Linked DNA regions of Homo sapiens: all the other regions are linked to region 2. Evidence: promoter capture Hi-C in human tissues and cell types (Jung and others, 2019). All regions are on one chromosome and are shown on one strand. Each heading gives the region's core, a stretch centred on a gene start or on the middle of the fragment in contact. The rest is flanking DNA. Distances are from core to core; before and after follow the strand shown. Region 1 overlaps CHAF1A (chromatin assembly factor 1 subunit A). Region 2 holds the start of ZNF77 (zinc finger protein 77). Region 3 holds the start of ZBTB7A (zinc finger and BTB domain containing 7A).

The links. The method cuts DNA at HindIII sites, captures the fragments that hold promoters and counts their contacts. A contact is called where the count stands out against the background at its distance.
Region 1: a contact is called between a fragment that was not itself captured here and the fragment with the promoter of ZNF77 in region 2, in 1 of the 25 tissues and cell types used here (dorsolateral prefrontal cortex).
Region 3: a contact is called between the fragment with the promoter of ZBTB7A here and the fragment with the promoter of ZNF77 in region 2, in 1 of the 25 tissues and cell types used here (spleen).

What each region holds. Positions count from the first base shown.
Region 1 is chr19:4,414,752-4,418,059 of GRCh38, forward strand. CHAF1A (chromatin assembly factor 1 subunit A) reads left to right here. Exons shown (of 15, transcript NM_005483.3): 4 at 3,269-3,308. Among named protein-coding and RNA genes, the nearest start is that of CHAF1A, 14 kb to the left of the region's middle. The HindIII fragment of the contact is 3,051 bases long and covers 1-2,975 here.
Region 2 is chr19:2,943,513-2,946,884 of GRCh38, forward strand. It overlaps ZNF77 (zinc finger protein 77), which reads right to left and starts at 1,459. Exons shown (of 4, transcript NM_021217.3): 1 at 1,326-1,459. The coding sequence starts at 1,328. RefSeq lists silencers at 1,155-1,234, 1,375-1,624 and an enhancer at 1,695-1,854. The HindIII fragment of the contact is 6,632 bases long and covers 1-3,372 here.
Region 3 is chr19:4,065,504-4,068,663 of GRCh38, forward strand. It overlaps ZBTB7A (zinc finger and BTB domain containing 7A), which reads right to left and starts at 1,396. Exons shown (of 3, transcript NM_015898.4): 1 at 1,179-1,396. RefSeq lists silencers at 1-696, 1,177-1,376, 1,387-1,436, 1,477-1,536, 1,747-1,856 and 1 more. The HindIII fragment of the contact is 23,363 bases long and covers 1-3,160 here.

The sequences.
Region 1 (3,308 bases), core at 200-2,699, 1.5 Mb after region 2:
TGAGCTTCCTTCTACAAGTGGCCTTGGGCTGTTAAGGAGAATGAGGTCTTGGTAGCTCAAGGCAATGCGTGCGTTCTTATTTTCCCAGCTTGCACTCTCTCATGCTTGGGCCAATTGGAGGTTTTCTCTTTTCCCCCCTGCCTCCGCTCCCCTGCTGTCAGGTTTTAGCGGCTTATCTGGTCTGGGCTTAGAAATTAGATACCCTTTAGTATAAAATCAGAGTCCATAGGCTCTGAGAGGATTATCTGAGAAAGGGTGCAGGAATTTTCATGCCCACACATAGTGAGCTCTGTCGCGACTCCTTGGGATTGTCGGTTTTTGTGTTTTGGCTTCCTTCTGGGATCCTGGATCACGTTTTTGGCAGTTGAGGGTGCTGTCTGACCGGGCTCCAGCTGGGTAGAATGTGGGAGTGTTGCATAGAATTTTGAGAGTGAGATCTATAAACACTTGGGTCAAATTTCAAGAAGATAAAGTTCTGTCAGACTTCAAGGTCCATCTGAGGGTTTGGCAAAGCAAAAAAGATACCAGTTTTAAATTAAGCAGTAATTGCTCTGTTTTGGTTGTTGGATATTACTGAGCGGGCTCTTGCCAGTCACATCAAGTCTGTTATCTCTGGACTCACAGCAGAGGGGGGGCATTGTAAGAGGCAGGAGATTCTGCAGCTGAGCTTCAGGCATGGGCAAGACTAAGGAACTGAATTCCCCGCCACCCCAAGACCACATTCCGTATTATAATCTCTGAACACAAAGGGCAGCCCCGGAGAGCTGCGGCTCCCATATTCTGCAGTTAAATCCCTCAGCGTGGGGGAGAGGCACACAGCCTTGGCAGGCAGAGTAGATGCTGGAGAGACAGATGCTTTTTCTGCAGCATTTGGTGAGGCTGCCTCGGGCTGGCATTTCTGTTGCCACATTCTCAGCAAAGACTGAACACCCTGGCCTGATCTCGGTGGTGAAAGAGCTCCTGCCAACACGGGCAGCCTTCTCACAACGGCTCGGCCTTTCCCTAAAGAAAGGTTTAGTCCAGAAAGGACTCAGTGGGACCCAGGTGGAAAGGCTGTCTTGAGCTCATTCATCTGAAGCTTTTATTCTGTGAGAGGTCCTAGTCAGGGGTTCAGCTTTCCCAGATAAAGAAATCACTGTTGGCCGGGCGCGGTGGCTCACGCCTTTAATCCCAGCACTTTGGGAGGCCGAGGCGGGCGGATCACGAGGTCAGGAGATCGAGACCATCCTGGCTAACATGGTGAAACCCCATCTCTACTAAAAATACAAAAAAATTACCCAGGCATGGTGGTGGGCACCTATAGTCCCAGCTACTGGGCAGACTGAGGCAGGAGAATCGCTTGAACCCGGGAGGCGGAGCTTGCAGTGATCCGAGATGGCGCCACTGCACTCCAGCCTGGGCGACAGAGCGAGACTCCGTCTCAAAAAAAAAAAGAAATCACTTACATAATTTTGTTGACCCCTCAGACCATTGCCAGGAAAATGGGCCTTTGGTTTTTCAGTCAACTTCAGTCTTACACTGCAAGTCTGCAATGAACCCGGAGAACTATTTCTTCCCACTCTTAAGCGTCTCTTCCCATTGCTCTTCACTTCTACTAGTTTGGTTTTCAGGATTCCCTGCCCCGGTGGGAGATAGCTTAGGCCAAAGTCCAGACTCCCTGTTCGTCTTCCTTCCTGGGACCATTTAGGTGGATGGTGAGTCACACCATGGATCCTATTGGTAATTCCTAGTAGCTCATGCTCAGTTTGAAGGTAGGTGATAGAAAATATTGTGCCCTAGAAGGTAGAAGTCCTAGAAAACCCCAGCAAGTTTCCCTTTTGTCTTAAGCTTTCACTCCACATTCTAAAAAGCAGAGTTGGCTGGGCGCGGTGGCTCACGCCTGAATTCCTAGCACTTTGGGAGGCGAGGCGGGTGGATCACCTGAGGTCAGGAGTTCGAGACCAGCCTGGCCAACATGATGAAACCCCTATCTCCACTAAAAATACAAAAATTAGCCAGGTGTGGTGGCACACGCCTATAATCCCAGCTACTCAAGAAGCTGAGGCAGGAGAATCGCTTGAACTTGGGAGGTAGAGGTTGCAGTGAGCCGAGATCGTGGCACTCGCTGCACTCCAGCCTCTGTGACAGGAGTAAGACTCCATCTCAAAAATAACATTAAAATAAAAAGCAGAGTTGAGCTAGACAGAATGTAAATTAGTGGTGCACAGGAAACCAGCCTGGAGACATGTTTTATTTGATTAATTTAGTATCTTTTTATTTTTTTTTTAGACAGTCTCACTCTGTCACCCAGGTTGGACAGCTCAGTGCAGCCTCAACCTCCCGGGCTCCTCCCACCCCAGACTCCTGGGTAGCTAGGACTACAGATGTGCACCACAACACCCGACTAACTAAAAGCTTTTTTTAGAGACAGGGTCTTGCTTTATTGCCCAGGCTGGTCTTGAACTCCTGGGCTCAAGTGATCCTCCCGCCTTGACCTCCCAAAGTGCTGGGATTACAGGCATGAGCCACTGTGCCCGTCTGTGTCCATTTTTAAACACCTAAAAAAATTCATATGAAATTCCTAATATCAGCTTCTCTTGGAGAAATTGGAAGGACCAGCAAATAGGGATCTATATTCCTGTAAGAACTCCATCTCCTTTGGACAGGCAGGTCCTCTCTCCTTTGCTACAAATCCATCCTCTCCCTGTCGCCCAGGCCAGCTGTCGCTTTTTTTTTTTTTTTTTTTTTAAGACAGAGTCTCACCCTGTTGCCCAGGCAGGAGTATGGTGGCGCAATCTCGGCTCACTGCAACCTCCTTCTCCTGGGTTCAAGCGATTCTTCTGCCTCAGCCTCCTGAGTAGGTGGGATTACAGGCACCTGCCACCACGCTCGGCTAATTTTTGTATTTTTAGTAGAGATGGGGTTTTGCCACGTTGGCCAGGCTGGTCTCGAACTCCTGACCTCAGGTGATCTGTCTGCCTCGGCCTCCCAAAGTGCTGGAATTACAGGCGTTAGCCACCGCGCCCAGCCTTGTCTGTTGCCTTTATTTCTGAGCTTGCCTTGTTTTTCTTGTGCTTGGTGTCCTTCACTCATTTCTTTATCTGCCTCCGTAGTCTCTCTTGTTATCTAATCCCAGATACACACATGTATGCACACTTACTGGAGTTTGTGACCCTATTATGACATTTTGGTTCTGTTGGTGGAAAAACTGATCACCTGGAAAGGTTTCTCTTTTTCTCGAAGCAATTGAAATAACCCGTGTTTAAAGATAAACGTCTTCTGTTTTCAGATAACTAAGAAATTCGTCAAAGGCTCTACAGAGAAGAACA
Region 2 (3,372 bases), core at 209-2,708:
CTAGCTGACCACGAGGAGGTACATTTACTGTCAACCTCCTTTCTGCTTGTCCCCTAAAACGTTCCTCCAAACCTTTTCTTGTGTATGAAAGTAAAGCCTTTTCCTGGTTGATTTTGAGACCTGGCAGGTTTCGGAGGCTGGGGCTTATCCCTATTTTTCTCTCTCCTTCTCTAGCCAGGATTTTTTTTTTTTTTTTTTTTTTTGGTTTTTGTTTTTGAGACGGAGTCTTTCTCTGTCGCCAGGCTGGAGTGCAGCGGCGCCATGTCGGCTCACTGCAAGCTCCACCTCCCAGGTTCACGCCATTCTCCTGTCTCAGCCTCCCTGGTAGCTGGGATTGCAGGCGCCCGCCACCACGCCGGGCTAATTTTTGTATTTTTAGTAGAGACGGGATTTCGCCATGTTGTCCAGGCTGGTCTGGAACTCCTGACCTCAGGTGATCCGCCCGCCTCGGCCTCCCAAAGTGCTGGGATTACAGGCGTGAGCCACCGCGCCCGGCCCAGGATTTTATTATTTGACAGGCTCCAGGACAGGGCACCACCTCCTCCTTGGCAGACCTTCCCAAACTGACCACCAAGCCCCTGACGGCTCCTGCCCTCTCCTCCCACTCTCCCCGATCCCCTGACTGCCTCTACTGTCCCCCAACACATCCCTCGAGCCCGACTCCCTTTACTGTCCCCCCAAACTTCCCTCAAGCCCCTGATCGCCTCTACTGCCCCCCTTAAAGTGCCCCTGAGCCCCTGACTGCTTCTGCTGTCCCCTCGAGCTGCCCCCAAACTCCCGACTGCAGCTACTGTCCCCCTAAACTGCCTTCGAGCCCCTGATCACCTGTCCCCCAAAACTGCCCCTTCAAACCCATGACCGCCTCTACGGCCCCCTCAAACTGTCCCCGAGTTCCTGACCGCTGCTATTGGCCCCCTAATCTGCCCTTGAGCCTGACTCCCTTCCACTGAACCCCCAAACTGCCGCCGAGCCCCTGACCGTGTCTGTTCCCGCAAACTGCCCCTGTGCCCCTTAAACCTCTACTGTCCACTTAAATTGCCTCAAGCCCCTGACCACCTCTGCTGTCCCCACAAGCTCTCCCCAAACTCCTGACCTGTACTGTCCCCAGAAACTACCCCTCGAGCCCCTGACCGCTTTTGCTGTCACCCCAGACTGCCCCCAGCCCTACCCCTCGGCCGCTGTGACCACGTCCCCGGGGCCCAGGCGCTCGTCGTGCGCCGCCCCGCGCGTCCCTCAGCTTTCTCCGGCTGCGAACTCGGGCGGAAGCCGGTTCCTGCCGCCCCACCTCGCCCTGGGCCCGGGCTCGGCTCCCGCCCGGCACTCACCATGTCCCGCCCGCTCCTGGGCTCTCCAGGGTTAGCGCCCCGCGGTCCAGCGACCGGCGCAGGTGAGCACGACAGGACACCTGAGCCGCTCGGGGTAGGCGGGGAAGCGCGCAAGGCAGAGGGGAACTCGGCTTACCGTCCTCGGGGTCTGATTGGACAGATCTCGGGAAGTGGAGACTCTGATTGGACAGTGCTGTCGACTCCGCACCCCTGATTGGAGAATTCTCCAGTCCGTCCCCCTAGCGCCCTTGATTGGGCAGGGCTCCGCTTCGGATTAACGTCTCTGATTGGACAGTTCCCTAGGCCCCGCCCCTGCCTGTCCTGATTGGATAATTCTCTCCTCAGTGACGGGCTCGTCGAGAACACGCGTGGCTGACCCTCTAGCCGGGCAGCCGCGGATCTGGGAGAACTCACTCCAGTCCAGGGAGGGCGCGGCGTCCTCCTCCCTGACTGCACGGCAACTCCAGACTCAGTTTCCCCTCGGAGCGGCCCCTCGTGCGGGGAGGAGAGGAAGGGCACGGAGTCCCATGGGGCGGAGTCCTGCGTGGGGGCGGGACCCGCGTGCGTGACGTCACCGTGCTGTCCCGCGTGGGCGCGGACGCCTGGGGTCCAGAGACCTGGAGATCTGGAGACCAGACGACGAGGCCCCAGGAGGCCGGACCCCACCAGGCGCTCCCTGTGTTCTTAAAACTCTCGGCCGGGCGCGGTGGTTCACGCCGGTAATCCCAGCACCGTGAGAGGCGGAGACCGGCGGATCATCAGAGGTCAGGAGTTCAAGTCCAGCCTGACCAAAATGGCGAAAACCACTTCTCTCCTAAAAATACAAAAATTAGCTGGGCACGGTGGCGGGCGCCTGTAATCCCAGCTACTCCGGAGGCTGAGGCAGGAGAATCGCTTGAACCCAGGAGGCGGAGATTGCAGTGAGCCAAGATCAGGACACTGCACTCCAGCCTGGGCAACAAGAGCGAAACTGAGTCTCAAAAAAAAAAAAAGCAGCCCTCCCACAAACAGAACCACGTAAGGTCATGAAGAGAGAGGTCTCACATTTATATGCTTAATAACGAAAAAGACTCTACAAAAACCACAGGCTTAAACAAAAAATACTTTTACAGGGACACTCAGACTGGTGTGACCCTTGTTACTGATCTTTGTAGACAAGGATAATTATTTCTGAAAAATGATGTAATCCTCATTTAAAATTTTTTTTTTCCTTTATAAACCTTTGTCCCAGTCTGGGCAACATGGCAAAACCCCATATATACAAAAAATACAAAAATTAGCTGGGAATAAAGGAGTGTGCGCCTATGGTCCCAACGACTTGATAGGCTGAAGCAGGAGGATCGCTCGAGCCCGTGGGGATTGAGGCTGCAGTGAGCTGTGATCTCACCATTGTACTCCAGCCTGGGCAACAGAGACCCCCGTCTCAAAAAAATGAAAACCAAAAACAACCTTTGTCTTCCTTTACCTCCCTGAATAAGCACATAGTTTGCTATGCCGCGCATATTCCCACTGCAATGAACTGTTACCACCGTTTTTAGACAGCCTGTTATTTAGGTCGACACAGTAAAAACATGAATTACGACAATTATGTTTGTATGTAAAATGGCAAGCGATATAGAGTTTATACTTCTACTCTGTCTCAAGCTGGAAAGTCTTTTCGGAGATGAGCAGTCGCGTTCCAGGCTTTAGGAATTGCGGCTCAACTGAATAAAAGTATTCAGAATTTTCACGTCGAGTTCAAATTTATTTAAACTTCTATGATTATTTTCTCAAATGAGTTAAAATAAGAATTCAATTACCATAGGAACAGTACAGCCTTTTACTTTAAGAAATTCTCTAGGGCCGGGCGCAGTGGCTCACGCCTATAATCCCAGCACTTTGGGAGGCTGAGGCAGGTGGATCACCTGAGGTCAAGAGTTCGAGACCAGCCTGGCCAACATGGCAAAACCCTTGTCTCTACTAAAAATATAAAAATTAGCCGGGCGTGGTGGCACATGCCTGTAATCCCAACTACTTGGGAGGCTGAGGCAGGAGAATCACTAGAGCC
Region 3 (3,160 bases), core at 146-2,645, 1.1 Mb after region 2:
CCTCCGAGGGGCCGGGAGGCGGCAGTGAGCCTGGCCCCGCGCCACCCCCCGCCGCCGGCGGCCAATCCCCACCCGGGCTGGGGGGAGGGCGATGCAAATTACCCCGGATCTGGGTCCGCCCGCCCGCCTCCCCCACGCCCGGGCCCGGCCTGCGCTAGGCCGCGCATCCCCGGGCTCGCCTGCACCGCGCGGCCGCCCGGGCCGCCGCCCTCCCCGGGGAGCGCGGGGAGGGTGACCCCCCCCCCACGGGCGGGGGGCCGAGGGGAGGGGGGCTGGGGACGGTTACACAACCAGGCGGGGAGGGGCCCCGGGGCGGGGAGGGGGCCGGCCCGCGGGCCGCGCAGCCGGAAGCCGGGACCGCCACCGGCCCCCGGCGAGGGGAGCCCGGCTCCAGGCCCCGCCCCCTGGCGGGCTGGCCCCGCCCCCGCGCCGCGCCGCGCGATCGGCCCGCGCCCATTGGCTCTCCGGCCCGCCGCTCACCGCCCCTCCTCCGCACCGCCCCTACCCGCAGGCCGCGGCGGGCTGTCGGCGCGGGGCACCCTGGGACTTGTAGTCCAAGCCGCTTGCCACCTGCCGGCTGCAAACGGCGGAGGGACTACGAAGCCCAGAGGTCCCTGCGGCCCTGCCCGCCCACCCGGACACCCCACCCCTTCCCCCTCCTTTCCGAAGCCCCCCTCCCTGTTTTTTCAGCCCCCTCCCCCCCATCCCCCATGGAGCTCAATCCTGGCCAACTCCAACGTATGCACGCAGCACCGAATAGGCCCCCGGGGGGCGAGAGCGCCCCTCGTCTTCAGCTGGAAACTTAGCAGGCGACGCGCCCCCCTATCTCCCCACGCCGGCTCCCCCCACCCTCAATGCAGCCCTGCTTCCCCTCCCCCGCTCCCCGCGCGCCTGGGAGCCCCGAAAAGCCATGCACCCGGGTTGGGGGGGGCTGGCGCACAAGCTCATGCACTTAGCCCCCAATCCCCCCTTCCCGGGCGGCGCCCCCTCCCCGCGCTCGGGATCCAGGGCGCCTCCAGCCTCCGGGCAGCTGCCAACCACCCCTTCCTCTGAAACTTGGGGGAACGTCCCCGGCTCCCCGGATCTCCCCTTCCCGAGGGGGCAGCGGTGGCCGCAGCGACCCCCGCCCGTCCCCGCCCTGCACCCCGTGCCGGGGGCCGCGCCGGGCGCTGACTTACCTCGCGGGGCCGGGCCGGGGCGCGCGGGGCCGGGGCCCGAAGTTGGGACTGGGCTCCCTCGGCCGCTCGCCTCCGGGGTCCGCGGCGCTCGCTCTGCCCGCGTCGCGCTGCCCTGGTCGCTCCCTCGCGCGGCGGCGGCGGCGTCACTGCCCCTACAGTAACTGTACAGTACAGCCAAAGCCCCGTATGATGCTCGCGACTCCCTTCCTGGTTTCTCCGAGGGCAAGAGGGGTCCTCCCTTGTCTTAAAGGTGCCGCAGCCGCCGGCCCCCCCACGCCCAGCCCGCCCCCCCCAGCCTGGCCTCGGAGGCCAGAACAGGCTCGGCAGGTCCCCTCTTGCCACGTCTCTGCCCTCCCGTGGGGCTTCGCCCGCTGCGCCGGGGAGACCGGGCTGTTATTAGGTTTTGTCAAGTCGGGGGGGGGGGTCCGGCCCGCCCCGGCGCGCCCCCCCGCCTCTGACCTCTCCGCCCCGCCGCGCGGCGCCGTGCCAGCTTGCCAGCTTATCTGGCCCCAGAGCTCCCCGGGGCGCGGGGGGAGCGGGCCCCCCGGGGTGGAGGGGGGGTGGGGGCCTCCAGATAAACAGGCCCCCAGCCTCTGCGCAGGGGCGGGGTGCGGGGGGGCGCGGGCTGTGCCCCCGACGCCCGGGGCGTGGCAGGATGGCAGCGGGGGCGGGGAGCGCGGTGCGCACAGCGAGGAGCGACGCGGGCGTGTGGGTCGCGCGGCCTGGGCTGCCGGGGGTGGGTTGGGGGTGAGGCGGTGGGGATCCCCCCGCAAGGCCAGGCCCTGGGCCTCCCCGGGCCTCAGTGGGACTTGCCGCGCCAGGGACCCCGGGGGGTGGCCTTGCCAAGGACAGCCCGGGTCCGCGGGGCTCCCGGGTCCCTAAATGAAACCACCAACCTGCCCTCCCGCGATTATATAAAGGAGTCGCCTCCACCCCGCTGCGCTAGGGGCGTCAGCGGGGGAAGGGGTTGGCGAGGGGCGGGGAGGGCGGTTGTTTTCCCGGCTTCGCGAGTTCCCCCACCCGGCTGCGGGCCGCGGGGCGGGACGGGGACCGGGCCCTGGACGCCTGGTCCGCGCGGGCCGCTCCTTGGCACAAGGGGGTCTGCATGGCTCGCGAGGGGCGGAGGTGGGGAGTGGGGAGGCGTTGGTTCAGCGCGACTTTTTTTTTTCCCCTGTCCGTTTCTCCCACTTCCTCCCCGGTCGTGGGAGAGGTCCGGCGGGGGACAGGGAAGGGGGAGCAGGGCACGAGTGGTGAGAACGTCCTGGCCCGGCCCGGGGAGGGCTGGCTGGTGCGACCGCGCGCCTGGGGGGGGGGGGGAGGGCTCCAGGACTCAGTTTCCCCTTCCTCATTCCTCCAGACAGAGAGAGTACTGACAGCTGCTTTAGCTGCCGTTTAGTGAGCGCTTATCCAGTGGGTGACCCTGTTCCGGGGCTCACTGTGCCTTCATTCTAACACCTAATCCCAGGGTCATTATTATGTTTTATTATTATCTGGCATTCTTAGTACCAACACCACCTGACAGCGGGAACCACCACCGGCCTGGGTGTAGTGTACCCAGCCTGTCCTCTGACTTCAAAGCCTCTCCTGCGAGAGACACAGTTTATGGCTTCTTCGCACAATTTATTAAAAGCGCCTTTCAACACCCAAACGGGTTGGATTGGCTTTTGTAATAATAATCTGGCTACGAGGGGAAACCCGGGAGGGCCCCCCGGAGGGGAAGTGGACTGTCTCAGGACTCGCAGCCTGAAACCAGCCGGGTAGGTGGGAAGGGACCCAGGGAGGGGCCGCGTGGATCTAGGGCGAGGGTGTCATCCAGGGACTTTGCTCCAAGGACCCTGCCTGGGATAGAAATCCTTCTTCCTTCAACCACCGGCCATCAGCCTCGGGACCAGGAGGCCACGCTGAAGCACGATTCTTCCCAGATCCCACTGTTGTGTTTGGATTTCTGCAAATGATGCCCAGACGTTTTTTTTTGTTTTGTT